Linked DNA regions of Homo sapiens: regions 1 and 3 are each linked to region 2. The links are contacts of gene promoters, found by promoter capture Hi-C in blood cells and fetal thymus (Javierre and others, 2016). All regions are on one chromosome and are shown on one strand. The core of a region is centred on a gene start or on the middle of the fragment in contact, and the rest is flanking DNA. Distances in the headings are between cores, read along the strand shown. Region 1 holds the start of MRPL12 (mitochondrial ribosomal protein L12). Region 2 holds the start of ASPSCR1 (ASPSCR1 tether for SLC2A4, UBX domain containing). Region 3 overlaps HEXD (hexosaminidase D).

Region 1 (2,700 bases), core at 201-2,700, 270 kb before region 2:
CACCCCCCAAGCAGCCTGTGCCCTCTGGCCGCACTGTGAGCTGGCTGTGGTGTCTGGGTGTGGCCTGGGGCTCCCTCTGCAGGGGCCTCTCTCGGCAGCCACAGCCAAGGGTGGAGGCTTCAGGTCTCCAGCTTCTCTGCTTCTCAGCTGCCATCTCCAGTGCCCCAGAATGGTACAGCGATAATAAAATGTATTTCAGAAAGCATCAGCGTTTTTTCTTTAATTAATTTTTTTGAGATGGAGTCTCACTCTGTCACCCAGGCTGGAGTGGTGATCTCCGCTCACTGCAAGCTCCGCCTCCTGGGTTCAAGCGATTCTCGGGCCTCAGCCTCCCGAGTAGCTGGACTACAGGTGCACCCCATTACCATGCCTGGCTAGTTTTTGTATTTTTAGTAGCGACGGTGTTTCACCATGTTGGCCAGGCTGGTCGTGAACGCCTAACCTCAGGTGATCCACCTGCCTCGGGCTCCTAAAGTGCTGGGATTACAGGCATGAGCCACCGCGCCCGACCTGCATCAACGTTTGCTCAGGGGGCAGGTGGTCAGGCTGATGGCCCAGCTGCAGGCAGGGTCATTTCCAGCCTGCCCCTCCCTGAGGCTGCGTGCCAGGGTTCATGTGTGCCCTCCGCGGCTCTGCACTGACCCCGCCGGTAGCTGGGGAGGAGTTTGGGCTTGGCGCCTCCTTCGTGTAGTGGCTGAAGCTTCCCGGGTGCTCCTCATTCCTGGGAAGGGAGTCGGGTGATGGGAACGGTGGGAGCTCAGCGCTCCGAGTCTGCGGCCGGGGGCCAGCGGGGCTGAAACGCGCCTCCTGAGTGTTGAAAGCGGCAGGCGCCGGCCTTTGCACCCAGAGGCCAGGGCGTCTCACTCACCTTCACATCCAGGCCTCTTAGGGGAGCGCGGCTTTGGCTTTTCCAGGAAGGAATGGACTCCAACGGACAGGGAAAGAAGAAGTGTGGAGAGACGGGCAGGATAAGCAGGCACTGGGCCCAAGCCGCCCTTGGAGGCTCTGCCTGTTCTGATCTGAAGGCGGAGGCTCAGCCGTGCTCTCCCAGGAAGCCACCTGGGCGTTTGGGGCTTTAGCTAGGAAAGAGGATGTCGCCTGCGGCTGCGAAGGCGCCAAAGCCCAGACCTCGCGCCTCCGCCCGCGACGGCGGCACTGGGGGCCCGGAGCGGGCGGGAGACGTGGATTACTGCGGGCTTCGGGGCCCTAGCCTCGACCGCGACGTTCGCTCGCATCGCGTACGGACAGAAACCCGTGAGCGCTGAAGAAAGAACACCTGAATCCGGAGCCCCAGCCCCCGTCGCTCGTTTGCGCGACCCCAAAACCTGGCGGGACGAGGGTCGCCCGATGTCTAGCTGCCGCCACAGACGACGCTTTTGCGTCTGCGCAGCGCGCCGCCTTGTGGGTAATCTCAGGGTGAGACGAGGCTAGCGCGAGGTACGGCTAGAGCGTCATTTCCGGCTCGAATGCCCGGCAGCCGTGGCGGCTAGAGCGTTCCTCCCCAGCTCGAATGCCCGGCGGCCGAGGCGGCTAGAGCGTCGCCTCCTCCCGGGGAACCGCGTGTGACCTTCCAGCCCGCGGACCGATGCTGCCGGCGGCCGCTCGCCCCCTGTGGGGGCCTTGCCTTGGGCTTCGGGCCGCTGCGTTCCGCCTTGCCAGGTACGCGGGATCCTGGGGCGGTCCGGGCCGGCAGGCGGGTTAGGGGGCAGCCGGGCACTGAGGGGTCGATCCGGGCGAGGAGGGCGGCGGGGCCGGCCTCCCTGCAGCGGCCAGGCCGGGCTTGGGGGTCCCATCGGGGGCGCGGGGAGGAGGCCTCCCGGTGCGCACGCCCCTTCCCTCCTGGGCCGTGGAAAGCGCCGGGGTCGGCCCCAGATGACCTTGGACGATTCCCTGCTCCTCCCTTGGCCTCAGCCTTTTCCGCAGCAAAGGCCCATCCGTGGGTGCGGCGTTTTGCGGCCAGGGGCCCCCATGTTTTGGGAGGCTTTGCGCAGGAAGATGCACCTAAGTAATAGTTTCGCCACCGCTGGGTTGATGTAGTTCATTCAAACCAGAAACTTGAGGTTTGAGTGGTATGGCTGCAAATAAACACGTGGCTTTCTAAGGCTCTTTGAAGAATTTAAAGTAACTTGCAAATCTTATCAATACGGACCCCTTGAGGTCTGAGAACCCTGGACTGGGACCAAGGAGCTAGGTAATTTCCGGCCCTAGTGATTACCAGCCTGAGCTTATGGCACCCACCAGTCCCCCAGTTGTCCTGCCCCTCTGGTTTCTGCAGCCCCTTCCATTCCAGGACTGACAAGTCTGTTTTAATTGGGGGTGGGGGCTAGGCGACAGGTGCCATGTGTCTGTGCCGTGCGACATATGAGGAGCAGCGGCCATCAGAGGTGTGAGGCCCTCGCTGGTGCACCCCTGGATAACGCCCCCAAGGAGTACCCCCCCAAGATACAGCAGCTGGTCCAGGACATCGCCAGCCTCACTCTCTTGGAAATCTCAGACCTCAACGAGCTCCTGAAGGTATCGTGAGAGGGTGGCACAGACCCAGGGGCTGGAAGTTTCAGGGCCCCTGTGTTTTGTTCCTGGTGTATTTTGGGAGTTTGGTAAATTGTCAAAAGTGTGTTTGTCCAGGTGCAAGGTCCATGCCAGGCTAGTTGCCCCTCCTCAGTAGGTTCCGGCTGGTGTGAGGGCCAGCTGTGGACACTG
Region 2 (3,229 bases), core at 730-3,229:
CACCATGTTGGCCAAGATGGTCTCAATCTCTTGACCTTGTGATCTGCCCAACTCAGCCTCCCAAAGTGCTGGGATTACAGGCGTGAGCCACCGCGCCTGGCCATATTTAATTTTTTTTTTTTTTTTTTTTTTGAGACAGAGTCTTGCTCCGTCTCCCAGGCTGGAGTACAGTGGCGTGATCTCAGCTCACTGCGAGCTCTGCCTCCCGGATTCACGCCATTCTCCTGCCTCAGCCTCCCAAATATTTAATAACTTTTTAAAGAAGGGGAAGCTTGACCGAAAGTGACTATAAATGTAGAAGAAACAATAAACTTGGGAAGCCATGATTTTGCAGCTTTACGGTTTAACACTGAATCTACTCATTAACTGATGCTAAAACTGTTGGGCAAATGGTTATTGGGAAAACTTGATGCTTGTGGTCTCAGAGAATGACCTCACGCATGCCTTAATTACTCCACAAGGAGCCACGGACCTTGACCATGGAGGAATTCAGCAGACCCAAAGCTGACCAAGTGGTTCAACTTCACGTCCTCACTCATGGCCACGCTGATGTCCTGCACCTCCTGCTGACTTGTCACCTCCCTTCATCATTGCCCCAAACGTTTAACCAAGGATCCAGACTGTGGGACAGTCTAAGGAAAATAGGAACAGACTCTTCAAAAACGCCACTAAAGAATTAAAACCCACCAGGTGATGTGTGGCTCAGTAAGGTTCTGAGGTTGCACAGAGCATGGGACTGGCTGGCTGGATGGGAGGGCTATGGCTAGCCTGGGGCTTTCCCCAGGTTTCTCCAATGTACATAGATGTCCGTGTTTGTCAGCATACAGGTGTGTGTGGGTGACATGGATATGTCATCGACAGGAAGGCACAACAGCACCCATGCAGAGATGTCCTTAGACTCAGCAATGACTGCCGGGTGCGGTGGCTCACGTGTGTAATCCCAGCCCTGTGGGAGGATTGACTGATAACTGCACCAGTTCCCCCTTCCACAGGCTACTGGGCAGCTGAGCCCTAGCCAGGAGTCCGCAGAGACAGGCAGGCACATGGAGAGAGGAGTGCCAAGGCCCGGCTGAGCCATGGAGGTGGGGGGCGGGGCGGAACACGTGCGAGTGCTGTCCATGAGTGGCCCAGGTGCTGGGAGCTAAGCACATTCGACGGCTGCGAGTCAGGAGGGCAGCTCCTTCTGGAAGCCTGGAGCTGGTGAGGCCAGGTGCTTTCCCTGCTGCGGTGGCTGGCGATGGGAGTGTTTCCTGAGGCTGCCACCAAGCCCCTCCTCAGCATGGGTTGGTGCGGGAAGTCCTTGAGTGCCTGTGGGTCGGCAGGAGCTCCGGTGAGACTCAAGTTCGCTCACCCCACGGTTCTGAAACCGGTCTCCCGCCTTTCCTACCCTCAGGTTTAGGGACCGTCGCGGCAGCCCTAGGGCTGCCAGATTCTGCACTCCCATTTTAGGATGAAAGAAATCAGGTCTAGACTGAGGGCCACGAGTCCCAACACCCAGGGAGGATCCGTACAGGGGCGGGGGGACTGCCCCAAACCATAAGGTCAGGAGGTGGACGCTGACCACAGGGACAGGTGGGCAGGGAAGAGGCTCAGCTGCTGGAGTGGAGGAAGCCGGGAGGGTCGGGGGAGAGCAGGGCACCGAGCTGGGGACGTGTCAGGGACGAAGCGAGGGTGGGCGAGCGCGGACCGCTGGGACCCCGGGGCTCAGTGCCGCTCACCGGGGGTGACCGCGCGCCCAGCCCCGGCCCAGCCTGGCCCCGGCGAGCCCATCCAAGCCGCGCTTCCCGGAGGCAGAGGACGACCGCGCTTTCCGGGTCTGGCGCGGGCTTTGGCGGCCCAAGGGCGGGGCCGGGGCGCCGTGGGTGGGGAAAGGGCGGGGCCTGGCAGGACCCGGAAGTGCGCTGCGGCCCCGCCCCCTGGCCGCGTGGCTGCGCGTCCTGGCTGTTGCCGATAAAGTTGTTTGACGCCGGCCCGGCGGCGGGTCACGTGAGCGGAAAATGGCGGCCCCGGCAGGCGGCGGAGGCTCCGCGGTGTCGGTGCTGGCCCCGAACGGCCGGCGCCACACGGTGAAGGTGACGCCGAGCACCGTGCTGCTTCAGGTGCGGCCGCCCGCCCGGGGCGGACGGGTAGGCGGGCGGGGGGCGCTGCGCCGAGGCCCCGCCCATTGCGGTCGGCGTCCCGGTGTTCGGGGGCGGGGCCTCGGCGGCCAATGAGCGGCCTCCTGAGCGGCGGCCCCGCCCCCTGCTCGCCGTCACCTGCGCTTCCGCTGGGGTCCCGGGGGTCCCGGGGGTCCCGAGTGGGGGCGGGGCGGTGGCGAGCCTTCCCAGGGGTGAGGTAGAACGGCGCCGCGTGTCACCCGCATCGAGTACTCGGCGCCCGGCCGAGCCCAGCTCGCGAGGGCGCCGGGAAGAGGGAGGAGTGGAGCCCTAGACCCGCGTTCCCATTCCGGGGCGTCCCCCGGAGCGGGAGCCCGGGTTGCGCGGTGGCAGATGTCCCGGCCGTGGGGCCTGGAAGCGATTTTTGCCGAGTCACTCACTGCACTTTTACTTGGGCACCTTGTGACCGCGAATCAATTAAATGTAAAAGTATTGGCTGGGCGCGGTGGCTCACGCCTGTAAATCCCAGCACTGTGGGATGCCGAGGCGGGTGGATCACGAGGTCAAGAGATCAAGACCATCCTGGCTAAAACGGTGAAACCCCGTCTGTACTAAAAAAATACAAAAAAATTTAGCCGGGCGTGGTGGCGGGCGCCTGTAGTCCCAGCTACTCGGGAGGCTGAGGCAGGAGAATGGCGTGAACCTGGGAGGCAGAGCTTGCAGTGAGCCGAGATCGCGCTACTGCACTCCAGCCTGGGAGACAGAGCGAGACTCCATATCAAAAAAAAAAAAAAAAAGTATTTATTGAGCCTCTGCTGCGTGGGGGACCGTGAGGATCCGAAGGTGCACACGACTCGGAGTTTGCGGGAGCAGCCCACGGCGTGGGGTCCCCAGGCCTGGGCAGGTGGAGGGCGCAGCCAGGAGGCTGTTGGTGCCAGGCGTGCAGAGTGCGGAAGTGGGGCGCTCCCGCAGAGGCTGCGCGGGACCCCTTGGTGCAAGGCCACGGCTTTGGCTTTTTATGGAGAAGAGGGGCGGAGGCGGTGCAGGCAGTGGCAGCAGGTGCACAGAACCGTGCCAGAGCCAGGGGGTAGCTTGTGCTAGGCAAGTTTAAGGCAGGTTGCAGAACTACAGGG
Region 3 (3,400 bases), core at 189-2,688, 450 kb after region 2:
ACACTGTTCCATAATATTTCATAACAAGATAAAAGATACTCAGAAGATGACGGAAGCTGTGAAAGAACAGCATAAATCAGAAATAGAAAAGCCCAGGCCAGGCTCAGCGGCTCACAACTGTAATCCCACCTACTTGGGAGGCTGAGGCATGAGAATCACCTGAACCTGGGTGGTGGAGGTTGCAGTGAGCCAAGATCGTGCCACTGCACTCCAGCCTGGGCGATAGAGCAAGACTCAGTCTAAAAAAAAAAAAGCCCAGAAATGTGGTAATCAGACAAAAGGAGGTTGTAAAAAATTGCCTGTGGAGCTCAGAAATGAATTATAAGGAAAAAACAATGTTTTTAATGAAGACTAAACTATAAGAAGTGTACAAGTGAGTAGACACCATGGAAAGTGCAGTATTTGGAAACAGATGACAGAAAAGAAAAAAGCAAACAGAGATGAAAAGGCGTTCTGACAAATTGAATATGGCAAAGAAGACTGAACTTACATACAGCTGATGAAGAGGCATTTTGACTTGGGCCAGGCGCGGTGGCTCATGCCTATAATCCCAGCACTTTGGGAGGCTGAGGAGGGTGGATCACCTGAGGTCAGGAGTTCGAGACCAGCCTGACCAACATGGTGAAACCCTGTCTCTATTAAAAATACAAAAATTAGCCAGGCGTGGTGTCAGGTGCCTGTAATCTCAGCTACTCGGGAGACTGAGGCAGGAGAATTGCTTGAACCCGGGAGGCGGAGGTTGTGGTGAGCTGAGATCGTGCCACTGCACTCCATCCTGGGGGACAAGAGCAAAACTCCATCTCAAAAAAAAAAAGAAAGGAAAGGCGTTCTGACAATTGAATATAGGCAAAGAAGATCCAACTTACACACAGCTGGAGTCCCTGTTTCCATCATCTGTTGCTGCGTGACAGATCTCCCCAAACTTGAGGTCCCCATTCATCACCCCTTGTGTTTCTGTGGGTTGGCTGCGTGATTCTGCTTTTCTGACCGAGGTGCCCTCAGGTGGTCACAGCCCCGTAACATCTAGAAACCTCTGATGGTCCGCGTGGCCTTCCATGTCCGGCAGTTCATCCCAACTGTCAGCTGGGGCTCCTTAGTTCTCCTGCATGTGTGTCATCCAGGAGGCCTAGCATGTGCCTGTAGTCCCAGCTCCTTGGAAGGCTGAGGCTGGAGGATCACTTGAGCCCAGGAGTTGGGTGCTGCAGCGAGCCATGATCATGCCAGCACGCTCCAGCCTGGGCAACAGAGTGAGACCCCATCTGTTAAAAAAAAGAGAGAGGCCGGGCACAGTGGCTCACACCTGTAATCCCAGCATTTTGGAAGGCCGAGGGGCAGATTACCTGAGGTCAGGAGTTCGAGACCAGCCTGGCCAACATGGTGAAACCCCGTCTCTACTAAAAATACAAAAATTAGCTGGGCATCGGGGCGGGCGCCTGTAATCCCAGCTACTCGGGAGGCTGGGGCAGGAGAATCGCTTGAACCCGGGAGGCAGAGGTTGCAACGAGCCAAGATCACGCCACTCCACTCCAGCCTGGGCGAGAGAGCGAGACTCCATCTCAAAAAAAAAAAAAAAAGAGAGAAAGACAAGGAAGTGGGGAGGAGAATAAGGGGGAAGGGACCCCATGAGTACAGACCAGGAACGAATGAGTTCTGCACCCCTCTCTCACCTCCCCCAGGTGCTGACCCCAACCCTTCAGAGCCCTGCTCCCCCTGCCCCGGCTCCTCCTGCCCCGTCCCCCATGCCTTGCCATTCTCCTTCAGCCTGGCTGCCCTGTCCCCCATGCCTTGCTGGTGCCCCTCAGCCTGGCTGCCTTGCTGGGCCGCCGTGCATGAAGAGCTGCTTCTTGGTGGCTCCCTGCTGGCCGGACCCGTCCCTCCCAAGCTGAGCCACCAGCGCGTTGAGTAGCAGCCCTGTTTCATAGCATATCTCCCCTTCTGTGCAAAATAGTCACTGGAACGGGGAGTTTCATTTGGCATAACGTAAAGTACACATTCCGGATTTAAGGTTCCCAGGAGAAATAGAAGTAGCAACTCCCACAGTCTCCACAGGCTGAAAGGGAAGGCGTCTCCCTGCTGTGGACTTGCCACATCGTGCTCCAGCAGCCACTTCTTCCTAACCCCTCCCTGTTTACCCCCCAGATTTTTCCTCTGTTCCGTGCGCTAGGTGCAAACGGCCTCCTCATTGAGTATGAAGACATGTTTCCCTACGAGGGCCCTCTGAGGCTGCTGAGGGCCAAGTACGCCTACAGGTAACACTGCCCGTGGCAGGTACAGGGGCGCGGCGTGAAAGCGGGGAAGGGGGGGTTCCGCAGGGCAGGAGGAGCAGCAACCTGGAGGTGCGGGTGGCACAGTCAGGAACTGAACAGTGGTGGGTACATTCCTTTTTTGTCTTTTTAAATTCATCTCTTTAATTGTATGAAAACAAAGTTTCATTTCAAACATTCACTGGAGAGAATTTTGAAACATTTAAAGGGAAAGTAAGCATCAGCAGCGCCCCCTACAGGGAAGAGCTGCAGTTCCTGTCTCTGTCCTGCAGGCGTTTCTTCTGTTGATGGGAGAAGGCTGGACTACAGAAGGTTAGAGAAGGTTAGAGAAGGTTAGAGAAGGCCAGAGAAGGAAGGCCAGAGAAGGCTGGGCTAGAGAAGGCTAGAGAAAGCTGGAGAAGGCTAGAGAAGGCTGGAGAAGGCTGGAGAAGGCTGGACTACAGAAGGTTAGAGAAGGCCAGAGAAGGCTGGGCTAGAGAAGGCCGGAGAAGGCTGGAGGAGGCTAGAGAAGGCTGGAGGAGGCTGGAGGAGGCCAGAGAAGGCTGGAGAAGGCTGGAGAAGGCTGGAGGAGGCTGGGCTAGAGAAGGCCGGAGGAGGCTGGAGGAGGCCAGAGAAGGCTGGAGAAGGCTGGAGGAGGCTAGAGAAGGCTGGAGGAGGCTGGAGGAGGCCGGAGAAGGCTGGAGGAGGCTGGAGGAGGCTGGGCTAGAGAAGGCCGGAGGAGGCTAGAGAAGGCTGGAGAAGGCTGGAGAAGGCTGGGCTAGAGGTTAGAGAAGGCTAGATAAGGTTAGAGAAGGCCAGAGAAGGCTGGGCTAGAGAAGGCTGGAGGAGGCCAGGGAAGGTCAGAGGAGGCTGGAGAAGGCTGGAGGAGGCTGTAGAAGGCTGAGCTAGAGAAGGCTGGAGGATGCTGGAGGAGGCCTCCGCGCAGGGAGGGGCTGCTCTTCAGGCCACAGTTGAGCCTTGAGTTAGAGAAGAGAAGAATTAAAGGGGAGAGAATCAAAATCAATAAAATCAGGTGTGGTGGAGATGGGAGGCCCCTGCTTAATGCTAAAATCACAGGTCTCTGTGAAAATCAATAACGGCCCCAAAGATAAATGCACAATGGACATTAACTGGCCAATCCCAAAGGAAGAAACAAA

What was found. The method cuts DNA at HindIII sites, captures the fragments that hold promoters and counts their contacts. A CHiCAGO score of 5 or more calls a contact.
Region 1: the fragment with the promoter of MRPL12 here is called in contact with the fragment with the promoter of ASPSCR1 in region 2 in 12 of 17 cell types (erythroblasts, endothelial precursors, M0 macrophages and 9 more); the score reaches 13.4 in erythroblasts.
Region 3: a fragment that was not itself captured here is called in contact with the fragment with the promoter of ASPSCR1 in region 2 in 1 of 17 cell types (non-activated CD4 T cells); the score reaches 6.1 in non-activated CD4 T cells.

Annotation. Positions count from the first base shown.
Region 1 is chr17:81,701,917-81,704,616 of GRCh38, forward strand. MRPL12 (mitochondrial ribosomal protein L12) reads left to right here and starts at 1,451. Exons shown (of 5, transcript NM_002949.4): 1 at 1,451-1,659; 2 at 2,328-2,514. The coding sequence starts at 1,586. HGS (hepatocyte growth factor-regulated tyrosine kinase substrate) reads left to right here. Exons shown (of 22, transcript NM_004712.5): 22 at 1-205. RefSeq lists enhancers at 331-934, 879-948, 935-1,538 and a silencer at 1,439-1,818. The HindIII fragment of the contact is 11,363 bases long and covers 699-2,700 here.
Region 2 is chr17:81,975,650-81,978,878 of GRCh38, forward strand. It overlaps ASPSCR1 (ASPSCR1 tether for SLC2A4, UBX domain containing), which reads left to right and starts at 1,980. Exons shown (of 16, transcript NM_024083.4): 1 at 1,980-2,099. The coding sequence starts at 1,998. LOC105371939 (a long non-coding RNA gene) reads right to left here and starts at 1,836. Exons shown (of 2, transcript XR_933953.4): 1 at 1,719-1,836; 2 at 319-1,308. It overlaps LOC124904087 (a long non-coding RNA gene), which reads left to right. Exons shown (of 2, transcript XR_007065951.1): 2 at 462-686. RefSeq lists enhancers at 592-1,365, 1,366-2,137 and a silencer at 1,616-2,475. The HindIII fragment of the contact is 4,025 bases long and covers 270-3,229 here.
Region 3 is chr17:82,422,255-82,425,654 of GRCh38, forward strand. It overlaps HEXD (hexosaminidase D), which reads left to right. Exons shown (of 13, transcript NM_001330542.2): 3 at 2,140-2,249. HEXD-IT1 (HEXD intronic transcript 1) reads left to right here and starts at 3,071. Exons shown (of 1, transcript NR_170223.1): 1 at 3,071-3,400. RefSeq lists an enhancer at 1,729-2,564. The HindIII fragment of the contact is 7,971 bases long and covers 1-3,400 here.